Regions from separate parts of the Homo sapiens genome. Here regions 1 and 2 are each linked to region 3. Evidence: promoter capture Hi-C in 16 types of primary human blood cells and fetal thymus (Javierre and others, 2016). All regions are on one chromosome and are shown on one strand. The core of a region is centred on a gene start or on the middle of the fragment in contact, and the rest is flanking DNA. Distances in the headings are between cores, read along the strand shown.

What was found. The method cuts DNA at HindIII sites, captures the fragments that hold promoters and counts their contacts. A CHiCAGO score of 5 or more calls a contact.
Region 1: a contact is called between a fragment that was not itself captured here and the fragment with the promoter of KLHL31 in region 3, in 1 of 17 cell types (M0 macrophages). The highest score is 5.4, in M0 macrophages.
Region 2: a fragment that was not itself captured here is called in contact with the fragment with the promoter of KLHL31 in region 3 in 3 of 17 cell types (naive B cells, M2 macrophages and M0 macrophages); the score reaches 9.6 in naive B cells.

The regions. Positions count from the first base shown.
Region 1 is chr6:53,082,292-53,085,172 of GRCh38, forward strand. It overlaps FBXO9 (F-box protein 9), which reads left to right. Exons shown (of 13, transcript NM_033480.3): 7 at 213-327. Among named protein-coding and RNA genes, the nearest start is that of FBXO9, 18 kb to the left of the region's middle. The HindIII fragment of the contact is 1,949 bases long and covers 434-2,382 here.
Region 2 is chr6:53,119,206-53,121,905 of GRCh38, forward strand. No RefSeq gene overlaps it. Among named protein-coding and RNA genes, the nearest start is that of GCM1, 28 kb to the right of the region's middle. RefSeq lists a silencer at 586-880 and an enhancer at 752-1,251. The HindIII fragment of the contact is 9,228 bases long and covers 1-2,700 here.
Region 3 is chr6:53,664,470-53,667,294 of GRCh38, forward strand. KLHL31 (kelch like family member 31) reads right to left here and starts at 1,287. Exons shown (of 3, transcript NM_001003760.5): 1 at 1,132-1,287. The HindIII fragment of the contact is 2,006 bases long and covers 827-2,825 here.

The sequences.
Region 1 (2,881 bases), core at 158-2,657, 580 kb before region 3:
TTCAGATCTATACTGAAAAAACAAAGATATTTATGTCTTGATGTTAAGAACCATTATTATTATTGAGTAGCTAAATACATTCATGCTTTAGCTCTGAGCAATACAGAGGGTGTGATTATAAATTTCTAGGAAGGTATAAATGTACTGGGAATGTAGTTGTGACAATAGAATGACATAGAGGAGAGTCACTGAAGGATGATTTTCTTTTGCAGTGCTGCCAATGGAGGTCCTGATGTACATCTTCCGATGGGTGGTGTCTAGTGACTTGGACCTCAGATCATTGGAGCAGTTGTCGCTGGTGTGCAGAGGATTCTACATCTGTGCCAGGTACTAAGTTTTTGTTTTTGTTTTTTAAACAACTGAGGCAATGGTGAAAAGAAAGATGGTCCTTTGCCAATCCTGATAAAATTACTTGATTGGTGTTCTGAGTTAAAGCTTAGAATAAACAAGTTTTGCTAAGCTGTACTTAACTTTCTCAAATAACTTAGAATTTAAAGGCTAGAATATGCTAGGTTTCTAGGGTATAGAATAATATGTAGGACAGATGTAGTAACCCATACTACTACCATAGAGTTTACATGCTAGCTTAACTGATTTGGGAAAAAGAGTTATATTAGAAAAATATATTCAAGTCATTTTTACACTAACTGTAAACTCATTGTGGTAATGGTTTAGATTAAAACAGCACTAGCATTTTCTTATGGCTCATTAAAAGTTATTCTATATTTTGAAAATTTTGCTATGTGTGGGAAAGGACTCTATTCAATAAATGGTGCTGAGATAAGCGGCTAGCCATGTGCAGAAGATGGAAACTGGATCCTTTCCTTACACGACACACAAAAATCAAATCAAGATGGATTAAAGACTTAAATGTAAAACCTAAAACTATATACTTAGTCCTTATATAGAATTTTTAAAAACAACTTGTTCTTAAAATTCAGATGCATTATTTTTAAATTAATTCCATTTGGAATCTTGTAGTTTTCATAAAATATTTGAATTTCTTGAAGACTCTTTTTCACAATTCTGTGTGCTAGTATATTTAACAAGTACCTATTAAACACCTAGTGGATTGCCACTAGAGTCTCTAGCACTGTTATGTCAACCTAAATAATAAGCAGATAGACTCTCTAAAAGACATTTATTTGAGAATAATACATTGCAATGGGAATACACATGCCATAGTAAACTATTCAGGGAAACAAAAGTTTTTAAAGGAAAAAATGAGGATTACATAATTGTTTTGAAATACTTAATCCTTGACTACAAAGATCAGTAACAAGGGGGACGCCAGTCTGAGATTGGACAGACAGTTTCTTGGGCAGATGTCCTTGCAGCAAAAATATTTTTTGTATAAGGCTGTGATGGCCTTTGTGCAGAGCTGTGTTTTTTATAGTCTTTTTTGTTAACCAGTCATAGAAGCCTGAGAACCTTCTCTTCATGGCCTTCCTCAGCTCTCTTTGTCAGGGTTTTCTTAACATTAGTGGCTCCATTTTTATTTTAACAACTTTCACATTTTCCCCTTTTGATCAGTATCTTTCTCTGATCAGTCATCCTGTAGTTAGGTTTTGACATCCCATAGTACCAGCATAGACCAGTCCTGGTTTCTAGTCTCATCCCATGTTGGGGAGAATGATTAGCAACTAGGAGTCCGTGTCAAAATGCTTTTAAGCCACATTTGGGCAAGAAGGGACGTCTGAAGGGAATGACTCTCAGGCTGTGTCTACCTGGATTCCATTATTAAGTTTGATTTTTGTCTATTCCATAGTCTTTGTTACTCAAAATGCTGGGCCAGCGTTATTGTTAGGTGTGGTACTTCTGCAGAAATTTAACAAGTAACAAAGTTAATAGTAATATGACAATTCCAATTTGCATAATGGTTTTGAGCCATGAACCTAGGCTTAAGAACAACTAATTGAGTAGACCAGTGACCACAGGGAATTAGGTGAGACCATGTAATCATGCTACCTGTTTTCTTATTTTGTGTACATGGGTCTCAACTTTATCAGAGGGATTTATCTAGGTACAGCATGTAGTACTAGCAATAGCACAGATATTTTCTTTTTTAACCAATGAATACTAAAGGATTTCTTGGGTTAGGTTCTGTTAAGTTACCAGCAGAAGCTATTGATTATGAAATTTCAATTACACCATTATCCTGTCAAGTGAAAAAAGTAGCATTAAGTGGGGGTAAAAGTCTTATGATATGGTTCTGATGTCATGGGAAAAGCTGTCTACAGCTTTCACAAAAACATCAGATTCTCCTCCTGATTTATGTTTGAATGTCTCTGGTCATGATATTGTTGTGTGGCTCATATATCAGGCATGAGACTTGTTTCTTAAAATTTGAATAGTTTCAGCTTAAAGGGCTTTACGAACAGAAGCTTTTGTTTTTAGTTGGCGTGTTGTAGTCCAATCCTGGAGGAAACTAGGAGAATTCATCAAACAGTCCGGTGTACGTGTGGATAACAACAGGTGTATTGCAGTTTTTTTTTTAAGAAACGTTTTTTTCCTACATTGATCATATAGGAATTTCAGATTTAAAAATCTCTTGAGGCTAGGAAGTCAAAGAGAGGTAGACTTTAGGCTTCACTTAGGGTCTTAAGGTTCTTGGGCCTGCTAGGAAGTGACAGGTTTTACTCACGATAAGGCTGAGAACTCTTAAAGCCGGATGTTTTATGCACATTCTTAAATATGACATTTTCAGTCAAAGCCTTGGTAATATAACTAATGTTTCTAATTGTATCCTCATATAAAGGGATTAGATTTTTATTGAACTTATATAAATAAAAATAATATGAATAGTTTCTGAATTTTGGAGAAATCAAGTAGGGAGAAAAAGCAAATGGTTCCACCTTGGTTCACAAAAGTCTTCTAACGT
Region 2 (2,700 bases), core at 83-2,582, 550 kb before region 3:
GTAGTACTCACAAAGAGAAAAATGCTGGCATGAAGTCCCACAAAGGGAAGGTGAAGAAACAAGAACACTCAGGCTTTTAAATCTTACCCTCCATCAGCTCCCAAAATCTTATGTCTTTAGATTACAATCCAAATATCATTTTATTTTAAACCAAAAGGAACACAGGTGCTCTGTGACAAATCAAAAATCCCAAGGCTTAGCAGGAAATGTTTAGATTCCAAAATCACTTTTTCCTGGCAAGGCAAAAAATAGCTAGGAAAAGAACTCTATGGGGATGTGTCTTCTCTCCTGGTCAGAAAAAACTGTTGTGGAAGTGGCTTCTATGTAAATATTTGCAGAATGAGCAAATAAACCACTAAAATCACCCAGGGCCTGCCACATTCTGTCTTCCCAGGACAATGCTCTAAATTTAAGGGTGGGACTCTAGTCAGAATCTGAACTTTATTCTTTCTGTTTTGAACATCAGAATTAAAGTTTAGAAGTTGGTTCTGCTTTTAAAATTTGTCCCATTTTTTTTCCCCTTCATCGTGACATTAAATTGTTTAGTTTCCACTGTTTCTCCCCCAGTCCTCCCCTCTCCCTACTTTTGAAGGTCTCTCTCTCTCTCTCACTCATCCCAGGAGGTTGGAAGGACCCATTTGGCCACAAAGACAGCATTTCCACCTACCAACCCAGCCCAGATGTCTAAGTCCAGCTTAGCTGTGACCCCTCCTTGTGGACTCCATGGCAGAGACAGGTGGACAAAAGCAATGACTGTTAAGGTGCCATCTGGGGTCAAGGCCACATACAGTCTGGCAGCACCTCAGCCAATTGCCTTCACCCCTATCCTACTCCATTGACAAGGCCAGGAATATCTTCTCCCTTGCCTGTCTGAGCTTAGTCCTCTTCATTTACACATTTCCTAATTAAATAGTACCCACAAGTGAACAGGAAAGCACTCCCCTAAATGGAGGGCCATTAGTGTCCTTGGGATCAGCTAATATGTCAGTAGTTGTTTGTAGAAAAATACTGAATAGTAGCACAGCTGTTACTATTTATATGTAAACACAAACGGTGGCTGGCCGTGGTGACTCATGCCTGTAATCCCAGTGCTTTGGGAGGCTGAGGCGGGAGCCTCCCTTGAGCCCAGGAGTTTGAGACCAGCATGAGCAACACGGGAGACCCCTGTTTCTACCAAAACAAAACAAAACAACCTCCACAAATATTACTAATCATATGCAACTAACAACATAAGCTATTAAAAATATGTGTGACCAGTTTACATTAAGATAAGTCCATCTAGTGATTTTTATTTCATTTTTGGATCAAAATCATTTGTACGTGGTAAAAAAATACGATAGTACACACAGAGTTTATGCTAAAAATTATTGCCCCTCCCCCAATGCTCCCCAAGACATGGCAAATTTAAACCTTTTCTGACTTTGGTTTTTCTGAGGTAACCCTGATCATTCTAAATCACATGCTTATTCCTCAGTTTCTTAATGTATCAAATCTGGATCTCTATTGATTGCCCAGGATGAAAAATGGGGTTTACCTCACTTGTGTTTTTGCTCCTTTCCCTGTCTCTACCTTCTTCTTCTTGACGTTTTGCAGTCATATGCTGTTGTATGATTATTCTCCATGCCTCTACTAGACATCTTTGCAACTTAAAGAAACATTAAATCACTGTTTATTATTCCATCCTTAGCCAGTGTCTCTGGATACCCTCCCACACAAAAATGTGTTGACCCTACCCAAATCTTCTTCCACTTTTTTTCTCTTTTGCCTCTGTCAACTACATCTTTACCACAGTGACATTCTGTGCTGGAACTATTATGGGGTCTTTTGTATTTTATCTGCAGTTAATTAAAAAGTTGGAACCCAATAATTATGTCTACACAAGTGGCTTAGGACACAGCTACATAGCAGCAAGGGCCATCTTTTCTTATCTGTGGCTTTAAAGTTTCCAGCATCAAGATCAAATGTCAGACAGCCTTCACTTCAGAGTGCCTTTAGACCTTCACCTCCAAAATGCAACAATACAAAATACTTTATTCTCGGGAACAAGTACCCAAGTTGAAGCCTCAGTTCCCCTAGAATAGTTAATTCAATTTCTCTTGAGGCAAGTCTTACTTTTAGTATTTTTATTATTTTTTAACTGTTTGTATTCCCTGGGATGCATGTTTGGGTGAAGTCCTAACTGGTAGCAGTTGATCTGCAGAAAGACTTTCAAGTATTGGTCCTGTTTCCGGTGCCCATCTCTCCTCATTCCTACCCTTCAGCTCAGTGACATCAGCCCGCAGCCTTTCCAGGGTCCTGCCTTTCCATTTCACTTCTCTGGGGCTCCTCATTGTACATCAATATACACTTCATCCACTTCCCATCTCCCAGAAATTTGTCGACGTTTCTGATGCACTCATTATCCCCCTTATGTTCTCTTGGCTCATTTTTTTATACTTCATTACTGACATTTAAGATCTCCAGCAAAGGCATACATTTGGTCTGCCACCTTAAGCTAAATAATAAATGACTTTTTATACTAAATAGGCAGTGAAACAAGTCCCTACTTTGGATATTTTATTCATACTACGTTTTTATTAAGATCAGAATAATAGTCCCAACAGTGGTTTGTTGTTGTTGTTGTTGTTTGAGATGGAGTCTCGCTCTGTCACCCAGGCTTGCTGGAGTGCAGTGGCACAATCTCACCTCACTGCAACCTCC
Region 3 (2,825 bases), core at 37-2,536:
TGACTGGACTGAGAATAATGCTGCCAAGCAATGGTACATAATTGGACCCTTGTCTGTAAGTGGGCAAGTCCATGTGAAAGTATTGCACTTAAATTCTTCCTGGCCCCAGCTGATCCCAGATGAAGACCCCCAGAACTGGTTATAGAAAAGAGTTGTTACTTCATATTTGAGAACATTTTCCTTCCCACTGCCCTGCACCCATGCTTCCTGGGAGTCCACAACAGGGTAAACTGGAAAGCCATGTGTGCTAAAGTGTCACTGTCACTCTCATGCCAGTATGAACTGGGATCCCAGAATGTCTTTTTGCCAAAGGGGCGAATCAGCTGCGCCTGCTCCCTGTCCTGGCCACATTCCTATCGCTGCATCTGTCGGGGCTCATCAGCCCTACCTCCAGGAATAGAAACCCTCCTGGCTTCTGTGGCTTGCCATTTTAAGTCCAACCTCGGGGTGGGGTGTAGGGGGGTGGTTTCCACTTCACCATTACACTTCCAACATGATTTTTAATATAAAATATATGTCAGCATAATGATATGTGCACATTTAAGACAAAAACCTATTTTTTAGCCAAATAACAAATTTTTTTTTTTTTTTAGGAAGGATATTTCCATTTCATCAATAGGTTATATTTCTGGGAATTCAGAGTTGTCTGAGTTTTGTGCTACAGATTTAGTTAAAACTGGTAACATTTCATCCAAACTGATCAGTAACAAATGTTAAAATGATTCTTGATAAAAATAAAGGTAGAATTCTAAACTTTGTGAACAAAGCCTAAGAATTTTCTCTCCTTCTCCTTCTCTATAAAGTAGTGAAAGAAAAATATATCTTAAGCTTTAGAGATTTAGAATTTTTGTTAGAAATTACAGGTGGTTTTACATTTGTAGGGCATCATTGTCATGCATTTTGTTACCGTGAAGTTCTCCTAACACGTTACATTTCTCAGATTTCAAAAAAATGTTTTCTGTCTCCCAACTTCAGATTAGGGACATGAACCACCTGACCCAGCTGTAGACTCCCTTCAGTAAAATAGCTCTACAACCACAAACACTCAGCCCACCCTCTCCCACCCACACATCCACACACACCCCAGGATCTAGAAGGCAGGAATTGGCGACTCTGGTCCCAGCTCCTTACCCTCCTTGGGTGAAGTGGCAGGTCAACTTGAGATGATGAAGTTTTAGCAGGAGACTCCTCTTGGGAAGGGATCTGTGGAGATAGAGAGAGGGAGAAGGAAAATCCGGTGGGGAGCCACCAGCAGCCACCTGACAAGACCCGGCTGCAGCAATTTTTAGAGTGACCCTTTGCCGTCCCACTGGATAAGGCAGGCCGAGCCTGCGCTTTGGCCCGGGAGCAGAGCAGCGAGCGCCCTCCTCTCCGTCTTTGGCCTTCAACTCTCCAGCCAGCCGGGGGCAGGGGGCGGGGCTCCGGTTGGTGGAGAGGGGTTGGGTTTCTTGAACTGACCAGCTGCTCAAAATGAAAAAGAAAAGAAAAGAAAAGAAAAGAAAGAAAGAAGGAAAGAAAGAAAGAAAGAAAGAAAGAAAGAAAGAAAGAAAGAAGGAAGGAAGGAAGGAAGGAAGGAAGGAAGGAAGGAAGGAAGGAAAGAAAGAAAGAGAAAGAAAGAAAGAAAGAAAGAAAGTCAAGAGCTCAATCAACCTGTGTGAGAGGAAAGAAAATTAATTCGATGGATGTTTAATTGTTGGAAGCAGGGATTCTAGTAGAGTAAGGAGAAGGGAAGGCTGTGGATTAAAAATTAGTTTTTGGAAAGGTAATTAGCCTGGTCACCTACGGTCTTTTGAGAAGATAGTGGTTATAAATAGCCTATTCTTTATAAGAGGAGCACGTATCTACCAGATATGGTACTTTCTACAGCACCTCACATGTGGTTCTAACATTATTAGGCTCATTTTAGAGTTTAATAAAGTGAGGTTTATGGCCAGCGATTTTCCAGTGATCACAGAGAGGTCTGAGATTAACACACACTCTAGCACACATGCAGGTTGGGAAATATCTACTTTGGCAACACTTCATGAGAAAAAAAATTCAATGATTATAATTGACTACAAATTTTAATGGGCACCAAGAGTGTGAAATGGTTGCTTAAAAAGTTAACATGATATTAAGCTACAATAATAGAAAAATAGATCATGGAAAATAAATGTTCTAATTATTCTTCATTAGTCAGATGATGTGTTAAGCATCACTTTGCTATCTTGGCACTCTGAGAACTTACTCTTCATCCTACAGAGATGGCTGGAACAAAAAAACTTCAGAGGCGGTGCATGTTGGAAACATCTGAAGAGAAGTATGACAAAGAGAGGACTTTTAAGATAAGTGAGACACCTGAGAGCAAGTGTTGTGGGGGCTGTTGTACAGCAAGAGGATTCAGTCAAAATTTCTGTAGCCTAAAATGTCAAAAATTTTAATGTGCAGTAATTCCGGGGAAATACCTTAAAATAAAGAAGAAGAGTGCAGATAACAGCTGGGCTCTAATGATGAAAATGGCAGCCTTGTAAAAGAGCCAGTTCTCTATAATTAGAAGGGTGGAAGTAAAAGAAGTTGCAGGACTGGTGTGACATTGAAGGGACTCTGTCTATGGCTGGGGGCTTGCACTGCATCATCTCTGAAATCTTTCCAACTCTAAGGCTCTGATTCTATATGTGCCAGTCTCCAGTTCACCTGAGACTCTCAATTCACTGGATAGCATCTGTCTATTGACTACTTCTGCTGGAATTCCCACCAATTTTTTAGTAGGAAAAACTATTTGGATTTTTTTTTTAATTCTTTGCTTCTACCCATAGATCTCCAGCACAGAAAGCGCCAGGAGCAAA